Regions from separate parts of the Homo sapiens genome. Here regions 1 and 3 are each linked to region 2. The links are contacts of gene promoters, found by promoter capture Hi-C in human tissues and cell types (Jung and others, 2019). All regions are on one chromosome and are shown on one strand. Each heading gives the region's core, a stretch centred on a gene start or on the middle of the fragment in contact. The rest is flanking DNA. Distances are from core to core; before and after follow the strand shown. Region 1 holds the start of CSNK1G1 (casein kinase 1 gamma 1). Region 2 holds the start of PLEKHO2 (pleckstrin homology domain containing O2). Region 3 overlaps CILP (cartilage intermediate layer protein).

What was found. The method cuts DNA at HindIII sites, captures the fragments that hold promoters and counts their contacts. A contact is called where the count stands out against the background at its distance.
Region 1: a contact is called between the fragment with the promoter of CSNK1G1 here and the fragment with the promoter of PLEKHO2 in region 2, in 5 of the 25 tissues and cell types used here (adrenal gland, bladder, heart left ventricle and 2 more).
Region 3: a fragment that was not itself captured here is called in contact with the fragment with the promoter of PLEKHO2 in region 2 in 1 of the 25 tissues and cell types used here (pancreas).

What each region holds. Positions count from the first base shown.
Region 1 is chr15:64,353,749-64,357,438 of GRCh38, forward strand. It overlaps CSNK1G1 (casein kinase 1 gamma 1), which reads right to left and starts at 2,425. Exons shown (of 12, transcript NM_022048.5): 1 at 2,240-2,425. RefSeq lists silencers at 1,691-1,750, 2,141-2,200, 2,311-2,360. The HindIII fragment of the contact is 13,823 bases long and covers 1-3,690 here.
Region 2 is chr15:64,840,551-64,844,751 of GRCh38, forward strand. PLEKHO2 (pleckstrin homology domain containing O2) reads left to right here and starts at 1,365. Exons shown (of 6, transcript NM_025201.5): 1 at 1,365-1,478. The coding sequence starts at 1,467. It also overlaps a transcript of LOC124903508 not described here. RefSeq lists silencers at 888-1,207, 1,218-1,657 and enhancers at 1,465-1,988, 2,021-2,572, 3,621-3,980, 4,091-4,200. The HindIII fragment of the contact is 9,878 bases long and covers 1-4,201 here.
Region 3 is chr15:65,191,289-65,194,916 of GRCh38, forward strand. It overlaps CILP (cartilage intermediate layer protein), which reads right to left. Exons shown (of 9, transcript NM_003613.4): 9 at 3,472-3,628. Among named protein-coding and RNA genes, the nearest start is that of CLPX, 7.8 kb to the left of the region's middle. RefSeq lists an enhancer at 783-1,077. The HindIII fragment of the contact is 3,805 bases long and covers 1-3,628 here.

The DNA of each region.
Region 1 (3,690 bases), core at 1,175-3,674, 490 kb before region 2:
TGAACCCAGGAGTTTGAGGCTGCAGTGAGTATAATTGCCCCAGTGCATTCATTCTGGCCTAAGTGACAGAGAAAGACCTTGTCACTAAAAATAAATAAAAAACAGACTTCATGTTTCTTGGATTTATTTCTATATCGTAATAAGGAATGATTTAAAGGCAGAAATGTATTCGATTTTGTTTTCTGAATATTATATAAGTTTTTCTAGTAGCATAAATCTAACTGAGATGAGAGGTGCTGCTGATGCTGCTGATTTTTATCTTAAAATTACAAGTAGGCCGGGCACGGTGGCTCACACCTGTAATCCCAGCACTTTGGGAGACCAAGGCGGATGGATTACAAGGTCAGGAGTTCAAGACCAACCTGACCAACATGGTAAAACCCTCTCTCTACTAAAAATACAAAAAATTAGCTGGGTGTAGTGGCAGGCGCCTGTGATCCCAGCTACTCAGGAGGCTGAGGCAGGAGAATCGCTTGAATCCTGGAGGTAGAGGTTGCACTGAGCCGAGATCGTGCCACTGCACTCCAGCCTGGGTGATAGAGCAAGACTCTGTCTCAAACAAACAAACAAACAAACAAAAAACAAGTACCTTCTATTTTACACCCCAATTTTAATTCTCTTTAAAGAGACATGTGATGTTAAGATTTACATACATTACTTTTTCATGTATTTCGTGTTAATCCATACTATAAACACCAATATGGTGTAGCTGAGAAAAATCTATAAAATATATTTTGCTCATTTCAATAAATGGGCCATATTCTACTTTATTATTTTGAATTTTAAGAAACTACTGATAACTGAATTTCATGCTACCTACGATCAATTTCGAGAAGACACTGAAAGTCCTATTGTATGCATTTTTTTTTCAAAATTATCCGGTTGCTTTCCTATCTCAAACCTCGTTTCACAAAACTGGGCTGCCTTGACTGTGTATGATTAATGGTAATAATTTATCTTCTAATTCAAAGGTGGTTCCGTTTAAAATGGGATGTTACTTATAATACAGGTAAGAATTTTAACTCATACTACTTATGAAGAAACAAAAGCTCTGGTAGGTTCCATGACTTGCCCAAGGTCAGTAACTAGCAACTGGCATAGTCTAGGTTCAACCCAAGATTTATCTGCCTGAAAGTCAATACTTCCACTTGACCGCAATTATCTCCTTAAAAGATTAAGACACAGGCTCAACAGCAGAACATTCATTCTCTCTCTGAAAATTCACATATCTGTTCTGAGACATCACTACACAGCACCTAGTATTCAGTCACTGATTGAAACAAAAATGAAGAGGATCTTTCTACTTCATTTAAATTAGGACAGGTTTACTGGCAGGTAAGAAAGAGGCTGCAAAAGCCTTGCCTCAACATGTCTTGCCTAGACCTGTGATACATCTATATGGTTTCCCCAGTCCATTCTTTTTAAATAAACACGTACATCTACTACACAAGACTACACCTGGACTAGCCTATTGTTAAATGCTTTTCAGAATTCCACTTTTCTAAGGTAATTTATACCGGAATTAATATCGAGCTGGGAGACTTGGTTGAATATGTCATTCAGGCACTTTCCAAACATCTTAAGTGTCATTTAGGGGCAACAAACCCAGTTCCACTCTCTTTTACATTGTGATGCCTGCCCACTTGGGGGACATTGCTCCTGTAGGACGTGGGGGCGAGGAAACAGTAAAGGAAGAAGTGGGGGAAGCGTACGGAAGTTGGGTAGAGGAAAGTCTCATTACCCACTCTTGTGCCCTAAGCTCCGCCAAGGGCGGCTCCCCGCGGTACCCAGTCGACTCAGAACCCCCACAACCTTCGAAGTCCAGCTCTGTCCCAGCGGGGTGGGTAGGGAAAGAGGGCAATGGAAGCACGGGATAGCCCCAGTCACCCTGACGAGATCTGTGCCCTCCTTTTGGCTCCCGGGGGATGCTCCCCCTTTCAGAGTAAGCCCTCCAGGTGGCAAACTCCCGGTCCACACCGGCTAGAGTCAGTTTCTCGGAAGGGGCGCCTCCTCCGCCTACCTCTACCCCGCTAACCGAAACTCTCCACCCGCTGTGTCCCTCAGCCCCTCCATTCCGCCCCCGCAACCCTCCACAGACACAAACGCCAGCCTGCGCCCCACCCGGGATCACGGCGTCCCCCACCCACGCCCAGGAAAGGGCCCCCCACCAACCCCCTCAGACACACACACACCCCCTCAGACTTCAGCCTACAGAACCCCGACGAAGCCGGGCAGATACCTGGTCCAGCAGTGCTGCAAGGCGCAAATGAGGCGGGCGCGGTCCCCTCCCCGAGGCGCCAAGTGCTTCTCTACCCACCCGCAGCGGTGGTTTCTCTCTTTCCCAGGAGCGGGAGGGAGGGGAGAAGGCGGACGGGAGGGGGAAGGCGAGGAGCCGAGGGGCGGCTGGAGCCGAACCGGAACCACTAGCGCGGCCCCGCCCTCGTCCCGGAGTCGCAGAGTACCCTGGCGGGCCTAATAGGACAAACTTTGGGCAGGCAGCGTTAAACTGACACCATCACTTCCGGGTTATCCCCACGGCTGCCCCCTCCTTAGCAACCGCGTGGGGTTGCTAAGCGGAAGTGCCTTCAAAGCAACCCACCCCCATTTCTTCTGGGACTACCAGAAGATATATCGGGAGCACTGAGCTCTGCTTTGGCAACACGCTCTTACCTTCTGCTCAAGATCTTAGACCAAGTACACGCTTCGCTGCCAGAGGCACGAAACCCATCCCGCTTTTCCCTTCAACTGTACTCCTCCACCAAGCCCCCGTCTCTATATACTCCTGCTCCCTCCCACCCTTAATCCCGTGGCTGACCCAGTGGCTGTTCCTAAGGCTCCAGGCTCCTCTCTCAGGTCCCTCGAGGGAATTATTTTCTGACGGTTTAGCAAGCATCTCCCTCTTGTGGATTTTTAATTGTGTTTCAACCAGATTTTTAAAATTTCTTTCAATGTTGTGAAAGGTTTTTCATGCACTTAGTTCTCCTGTGACAGCCCATGAAGCCGAATGGTTAGAAAAATGTTGTCTTCACCTACATTTTGTAAGAGCTGCACATGTTTGTGTAAGGTCTGGAATTAACCTAGCCAAATGGAATAGGCAAAAAAGATTCAATGTAACTCGACAGTTATTTTAATCCTTAAAACAGAGAGCAGGGCACATGTTCTCAGGACCTCTTGAGACTGCGCCTCGGGGGCGGGGTGGTGGTGGAAAAAAGACAGAAAACAAAGAAAAAGGCTAAAGGGAGCCCATAATCAAATTTGGGAAGGAAGAAGACTGTCTAATCCTCCACTCAAAACTCAAAATATGCCGGGTGCGGTGGCTCACACCTGTAATCCCAACACTTTGGGAAGCCGAGACTGGCGGATCACGAGGTCAGGAGATGGAGACCATCCTGGCCAACATGGTGAAACTCCGTCTCTACTAAAAATACAAAAATTGGCCGGGCGCGGTGGCTCGCGCCTGTAGTCCTCCTGTAAGCACTTTGGGAGGCCGAGGCGGGCAGATCACGAGGTCAGGAGATGGAGACCATCCTGGCCAACATGGTGAAACCCCGTCTCTACTAAAATACAAAAAATTGGCTGGGGGTGGTGGCACGTGCCTGTAGTCCCAGTTACACGGGAGGCTGAAGCAGGGGAATTGCTTGAACCCGGGAGGCGGAGATTGCAGTGAGCCGAGATCGTGCCATTGCACTC
Region 2 (4,201 bases), core at 115-2,614:
TTTCTTTCTTTCCTTCCTTCATTTCTCTTTCTTTTCTTTTTCTTTCTTTCCTTTTTTCCTTCCTTCCCTCCCTCCTTCCTCTCTCTCTCCTTCCTCTCTCTTTCTTTTCTATTCTTTCTTTTTCTTGACCAGTGTGATAATATCAGCCTCAATTTTCTTCATTCCTTTAGCTAAAGGATCCCAGGCCTAGGCATGAGGGAGAAGTGTACCTGCATCTCCTTCCCCCTTGGCCTGGGAGCCCCAGGCTGCCCTTTTCCGTACAGGGCTGGAAGTAGCCTGGGAGCCTGAGGGCTGGCAGAAGGCCGTGAAAGGGGAGCTTGGTCGCTGGCACAGCCGCTGCTATGGCAGCCAGAGCCGAAGAAGGTCACCATTGATCTCACATGCACTTAATTTTCCCTTCCTTGGCATGGGACGGGGTTGACCAGGAGAGCTAAGGGGGAGTATGCGTGTGTGTGTGAGAGGGGAGCGGTGCTGCAGGCTGCGATGCAGCCAGTTACTTTCTCTCTCTGGGCCTCAGTTTCTCCAATGTAAAATGAGGGCGCATGGTATAACTAAAATCATTACTCTCTGCTGGTCCCCACACTCCCACTCTCCAGTAAGGCTGTCAGGGCTGCAAGCTCACCGCGGGATCGGGGGGATGGTCGACCCTCAGATACGGGAGGGATTGAGCGATGCCCAAGGAGAGCAGGAGAACACTGCGCTTGGAGACCCCTGAGAGCCAGGGGCGGGCCGCCCCCTAAAGGGACCCCGGAGTCCCGACTCTCAGCTCCAGCTCTTCCTGTGACACCACCCTCCGGACAGAGACCCAAGCTCCAGGCCCGGCCCCGCCCAGAGGTTCCAGGGAGAAGACCAGGCCACCGCCCACTGCCCGGCGTCGGGGAGGAAAGAGGAGGAGCCTCTGTGTGCCCACATCTCTGGCCGCCCAGGGCAGCTCGGCTCGGTCTCGCAACCCCAGCCCACTGGTTCGGGAGACCTCAAAGGCTCCACCGCCAGCGCCCCCAGCGCTCACTGTGTGCGCCCCACCCCAGCCCTGCCTGCGCGCCGCTCCCGCCACCCTCGCCTCAGTCTCTGGGCCGGAAGCCCCCTCTCCTCCCCCGCCGCAGCCCCCTCCTAGTCCCTCTCCCTCCGCCGATGCGGGAAACCTTCTCCGCCCCGTCCCGCCCTCTTCCTCCAGTTGCATCTCCGCCCGGCTCCTCCGTCCAGTCTCCAACCCAGGCCCCGCCCCTCCCCACCCATTTCCCGCCCTGGGCCGGGCCCCCGGCCCCACCGCCCCCTCCCCGGCCCCGCCCCGGCCCCCGGAAGCCTCACCCCGCCCCCGGCCCCGCCCCCCCGAAGTTTCTTGGGCCCCCGGCAGCCGGCGGGACAGAACGCGGAGAGTCGCCGCCTGGCCGGGCGTAGACGCGGTGGCAGAGCCCGCGCGGCGCTGGAAGCGAGTGGCGGAGCGGCGGGACCTCGGCGGACTCGCCATGGAGGAGGAGGTGAGGGCGGGGCCCGGCGGGGCGTTGGGCTGGGGTCCTCGAGCCCCTCACGGGGATTGCGGTCCTGGGCTCAGGCCCTCGTTCCTGCCCGCCCCACTCCCGCCAGTCTCACCTCAGGAAGAGCCTGGGCAAATGGGGCAGGGGCGAGGGGCTGGATCCATATCGGGGACTTCGCAGACCGCGTCCTCCTTCATTCTCGCTGACTTTCTCACCAGTTGTGGGGCGTCGTGGTTGTTACCGTTCCCATTGGATTGACCAGGAGACTGAGACTCCAGCGAGATTGATGACTTGCTGAAAGTGGCCTGGGTGACTGGGCTCGAACCCCGATTACCGTGGTCGGATCCTGACTCTCTCTCTCTCTCTGTGTGTGTGTGTGTGTGTGTGTGTGTGTGTGTCGGATCCTGACTGTGTGTGTGTGTGTATGTGTGTGTTGGGGGGTTCCTGTCTCAAGGATCGGATCCTGACTCTGTGTGTGTGTGTATGTGTGTGTTGGGGGGTTCCTGTCTCAAGGATGTGACCATGCTTTGGTGGCAGGAGGATTGGAGAAGTTGCTTTTTTCTCCCTTGTATAAGTCTCTGTATCTTTTCCCCCACTCTCTCCCCGCTCCACATCCATCTGAGCAGCTAGCTGTAGGGAAGGAATCGGGAGTCCGGCCCACCTAGGGTCTGATCTTAGTCCCTGCCTTCCCCACCCGAGGGCTGGACCAACTGTGTCCCTGGAGCCTCCTTCTAACCACTCAAAACACTCTTGGCCTGGGATTGGGTCTTGCCCCTGCCCCTGCCCTTTACTTGCAAACTCAGTTCTGCCAGCAGCCGCTTTATCCGAGGGTCCAGCACGCAGCAAGCACTTAATATATGCCTGTGGAATGATTAAGTTAAAATGAGGGGCCTGTTGGGTCTAGAGGAAGGTGAATTTGTTTCTTATCCCCTGAGGGGGTCCCAGCTTCAGCCCCTCTCAGCCCAAGGGAAGGGGCATGTCTTTGCCTCCTTGGATGGGGAGGAAAGATGAAGTTCTCTGCCTTGGGGGAACCCTGGCCAGCTGGGAAGCCCTGAGTGGACCGGACTGCCTGTGTCCCTTCAGTGCCCACCTCCCACTTTTCCAGGGCCATGGATAGGAGCAGCTAGTGGTCCGTCAGGGCTCCCTCTAGGCCAGGCCCTGCCTTTCTGTGGGATGGTAGATAAGTCACTTCCCCTCTCAGCCTTCATTTCCTCTTCTACAAAATATAGTGCCTGTCCTCCTCATACTCCTGGCCTGACAGTGGCCGGTTCTCTCAGTGGGTGAAGGTAGGGGGCAAAGTCAGGCCTCTGTGATTTGCTGCGGTTTCTTTCTGGCTGTTAGGTGGGGCTGCCATCTGCCTGCCCCAGGCCCCTGCTGCAAGGGCTGGGCTCTCTGGCCAGGGCCCCTCCCCTGCTCCCAGAGGATGTGGGTCAGGATTACTCCATCTCCTGATCTGCGCTGGCCCCTGATTAAGGGAAGTTCTCCGGACACCTCCTGGGCCCGGCTCAGCTCTGTACACCCTTGGTCCTGAATCTCTCACATTGTCACTTTCTTTTCTTTTTTTTTTTTTTTGAGACGGAGTTTCGCTCTTGTTGCCCAGGCTGGAGTGCAGTGGCGAGATATTGGCTCACCGCAACCGCCACCTCCTGGGTTCAAGCAATTCTCCTGCCTCAGCCTCCTGAATAGCTGGGATTACAGGCATGCACCACCACGCCTGGCTAATTTTGTATTTTTAGTAGACATGGGGTTTCTCCATGTTGGTCAGGCTGGTCTCGAACTCCTGACCTCAGGTGATCCGCCTGCCTCGGCCTCCGAAAGTGTTGGGGTTACAGGCATGAGCTATTGCACCCAGCCTATATTGCCACTTTCTGACTCCTAGATGCCCAAAGCTCTCTAAATATCTGGGCCATCTAAGTTCTTGTCCACTTTACCCAAGCCCCTGCAAGCCTCACCCCCACAGCAGGGGCTTCCTTTCCCTACTCCCCTTTGGCATCCCTAACTCTGCTTTCCTCCCACTTCTCCCAGTAGCTTCCGCTTGTTGCACTAGGCCTCAGTGCCCATCTTTGTTTCTCTAAAACACCTCTTAGGTCATAGCCACATGCTCTGCCCCATGATCCCAGGCCATCTTCATCATCTCTTTCACATGGCTGCTTTCAGCCCTCCTGCTAGCTTTCAGCTTCCTCCCTGTGCCCGGCCACCCTGGGCCAAGGTCCCTCAGCCTCAGTGACCTCCTCTATGCAACGGGCAGGCTGGTAGCTCTTGTCAGGCTGAGGCTTGGGGAGGAGATGCTGGTCTGGGCACTGGGCATCTGCCCACCTGTGTGCTCCTGGCCTCGGTTCCTCCTTTGTAAAAGGAAAAGGGTGGGTGATCGAGCAATGTGATGATGTATATTCAAAAGCTGAGAAAACTGCGAATATCAGTGGGGGTATTATTGCTGCCATTGGAGTAAGGGTGGAAATCCTGGACCTAGGCTTTCCCTTCTGTACTCTGGGGCTCTGTCCTCTGCCAGCAGTCATGCCTTTCCCTGGCTTCTAGGCTCTCCACTTGCCCTCACCATCTAGAGACAAGCAGGGCAGTGTCCTGTCCCAGTACTGTTTCTGTCCCACGGAGTAATCTCTTGCCCTTTCTGGGCTGTACTTTCTCTTTCTATAGTAAAGGGGTTGAGGGGGCAGGGGCTTTGATAACCTTTTGTGCCTTGCCTTCTCTGGACCAAGGCGTGTGTCTCT
Region 3 (3,628 bases), core at 540-3,039, 350 kb after region 2:
TGTGCTACAGAAATGAAACATCACCTTGTTAAATCTACAAAATTTTCAATCTCTTCCATTTCTAGCAGTGTGGGATACAGCAAATTCTTTTTTTTTGATGAGGGGACAGGGTCTCACTCTGTTGCCCAGACTGGAATACAGTAGCATAATCACAGCTCACTGCAGCCTCTACCTCCCAGGCTCAAGCGCTCCTCCCATCTCAGCCTCCCGAGTAGCTGGGACTACAGGTGTGTGCCACCATGCCTGGCTAATTTTTGTATTTTTTAAGAGATAGGGTTTCACCATGTTGCCCAGGATGGTCTGGAACTCCTGGGCTCAAGTGATCTACCTGCCTCAGCCTCCTAAAGTGCTAGGATTACAGGCATGAACCGCCACACCCAGCCAGCAAAGCCTTTTTTTTTTTTTTTTTTTTGAGACGGAGTCTTGCTCTGTCGCCCAGGCTGGAGTGCAGTGGCACAATCTTGCCTCACTGCAACCTCCGCCTCCTGGGTTCACGCCATTCTCCTGTCTCAGCCTCCTGAGTAGCTGGGACTACAGGCGTCCGCCACCACGCCTGGCTAATTTTTTGTATTTTTAATAGAGACGGGGTTTCACCATGTTAGCCAGGATGGTCTCGATCTCCTGACCTGGTGATCCACCCTCCTCGGCCCCCCAAAGTGCTGGGATTACAGGCGTGAGCCACAGGCGCCTGGCCAATTTTTGTATTTTTAGCCATGTTGGCCAGGCTGGTCTTGAACTCCTGACCTCAGGTGATCTGCTAGCCTCCGCCTCCCAAAGTGCTGGAATTGTAGGTGAGAGCGACCGCCCAAGGCCTTAGGACTGCCCTTTATATGCCACACCCCCACCATGGACACAGTTGACTGGACTAGAGGCAAACTGCAGCTGGGCCAACCAGATTGTCTCTCCAGGGAATTTGATTGGATAGCAGGATTGCCCTGTATTTCCCACCCCTGCCATGGCCACGGTTGATTGGACTAGAGGTGGAGCCCCAATTCAAACTGGGCCAATCAAATTCGGTCTTCAAGACAGGGCTATTCATTGACTTGAGATATAAATAGGGTGGCCACCTTCTTCTGTGAGCCCAGAGGAACAGAGAAAGCATATCTGCAAGCAGAACCAAGGGTTCCTGCAGAGAGGAAAGACCACACAGTGAGAGGGAGAGACTGCAACAGAGACAGGGGCTAAGAAGAGAGAGAAATTGGCCGGGTGCGGTGGCTCACGCCTGTAATCCCAGCACTTTGGGAGGCCGAGGCGGACGGATCACGAGGTCAGGAGATAGAGACCATTCTGGCTAACACGGTGAAACCCTGTCTCTACTAAAAATACAAAAAATTAGCCAGGCGTGGTGGCACCCGCCTGTAATCCCAGCTACTCGGGAGGGTGAGGCAGGAGAATCGGTTGAACGTGGGAGGTGGAGGATGCAGTGAGCCGAGATCGCACGACTGCACTCCAGCCTGGGCAACAGAGAGAGACTCCGTATCAAAAAACAAAAAACAAAACAAAACAAAACAAAAATAGCCTGGCATGGTGGCGGGCGCCTTTAATCTCGGCTACTCAGGAGGCTGAGGCAGGAGAATTGCTTGAACCCGGGGGGCGGAGGTTGCAGTGAGCCGAGATCGCGCCATTGCACTCCAGTCTGGGCAACAAGAGCACAGCTCCGTCTCAAAAAACAAAAACAAACAAACAAAAAAAAATAGAAATAAAGTCAGAGAGACAGTCTGAAAAACAGAGCATTGTAGGCCAGACGCGGTGGCTTACGCCTGTAATCCCAGCACTTTGGGAGGCCGCGGCGGGTGGATCACGAGGTCAGGACATCGAGACCATCCTGGCTAACACGGTGAAACTCTGCCTCTACTAAAAATACACACAAAAAAAGTTAGCCGGGCGTGGTGGCGGGCGCCTGTAGTCCCAGCTACTCGGGAGGTTGAGGCAGGAGAATGGCGTGGACCCGGGAGGCGGAGCTTGCAGTGAGCCGAGATGGCGCCACTGCATTCCAGCCTGGACAACAAAGCGAGACTCTGTCTCAAAAAAAAAAAAAGAAAAAAGAAAAGAAAAGAAAAAGAAAAACAGAGCATGTAACCCAAGATTGAATTAGAAATTGAGAGAACCAAAGCCACCGAGCATGAGAGAAGACAAGTTAATTGAAACCAGAAAGAGTGATTACCTGGATTCTGATGGCTCTGCAATTCTTGGTTCCAGTCCTTCCTGAGGTTACCTGGCACCCCTGTTACTTGTAATCAAAAGACTGCCAGTGCACAGTCCCACCTCTATTCTTTGGCTCTAGCCAACACCTTTACCTGAAACCCCATCTACCTCTAATTTTGCTTAAGTCCTCTCAATCCTTCCAGACTCTGTTCTTGTCCCAACATCTTGGTGACATTTTTCTCTTATCACGTCAGCTGCTAGAACTCTTTGAACTTGAGAGAACATTGTTTGAAAACTCCCTTGTTTGTAAGCAGAAGCAACCTGATCTGCCCATCTACCTGCCTGTTCCCCTCCTCCATGCCATATGGTACCGACCTTCACAGAATTCGCACTCAGTAACTGGGTGATCAGAAGGCTGAGACTGAAACGCTAGGGCTTTCCTGAGATGAGCATTTTGTCCATCCAGTGTGCAGTCTCCACAGGGGAACAACCGACAAATCAGCAGTGGTTTAATGAACTGAAAGCATCCTGGGAATGGTGCTATTAGCCTCACTGAAAATCATGAAAAGGGCTTTAGAAATCCTTCATTTATAGGTGAGTAAATTGAGGTCCAGGGGAAAGTTATGCAGCTAGCAAGGAGCACATTTGATTTTGGAGGCAAGACTCTTAGGAATTAAGTATCATGAGTTCAACTCAAGAATGCTGGCTAGGCCTGGCGGCAGTTCACACCTGTAATCCCAGCGCTTTGGGAGGCTGAGGTGGGTGGATCACCTGAGGTCAGGGGTTCAAGACCAGCCTGGCCAACATGGTGAAACCCTGTCTCTACTAAAAATACAAAAATTAGCTGGGCATGGAGGTGCACACCTGTAATCCCAGCTACTCGGGAGGCTGAGGCAGGAGAATCGCTGGAACCCCGGGGGCAGAGGTTGCAGTGAGCCAAGATCGCACCACTGCACTCCAGCCTAGGCGAAAGAGCAAAACTGCGTCTCAAAAAAAAAAAAAAAAGTGTTTCCTTGTCTGAAAGAGAGGTATCTGCCTGCAAGCCCCACCCAGCCTGCAGTCCCTGGTTTTGCACATCTGTTTCTGCTTGTGCCTCTCGTTCCTGACAGCCATACCATTAGCAGGCCACCTCCTAGCTATCATTCAGACCTCAAATTAGATGTCACCTTTTCTAAGAAGACTTCTTTGACCACTACTTCCTCAAAGTCTGATGCCATGACATGTAGTATGTTTTGTACTATCTCATAAAAGCTTGTCTACTTGCATACATGGTTTGGCACTCAATAAATGTTTGGCGAGTGAAGGAAAAAGTCAGGCATCAGATGCTGTGTGCTGGAGTCCATTTATTCAGGCCCTCAATTGAGAACAGCAAGGAAAGTGCCCTAGAGTGGGGAACCAGTCAGCCCACCTTCCCCAGCAACCCACCCCCCCCCGACCCTCCCCCTCCCCCCGTGAGTTTGAAGTGAACTGGTGGTCAGGTTGA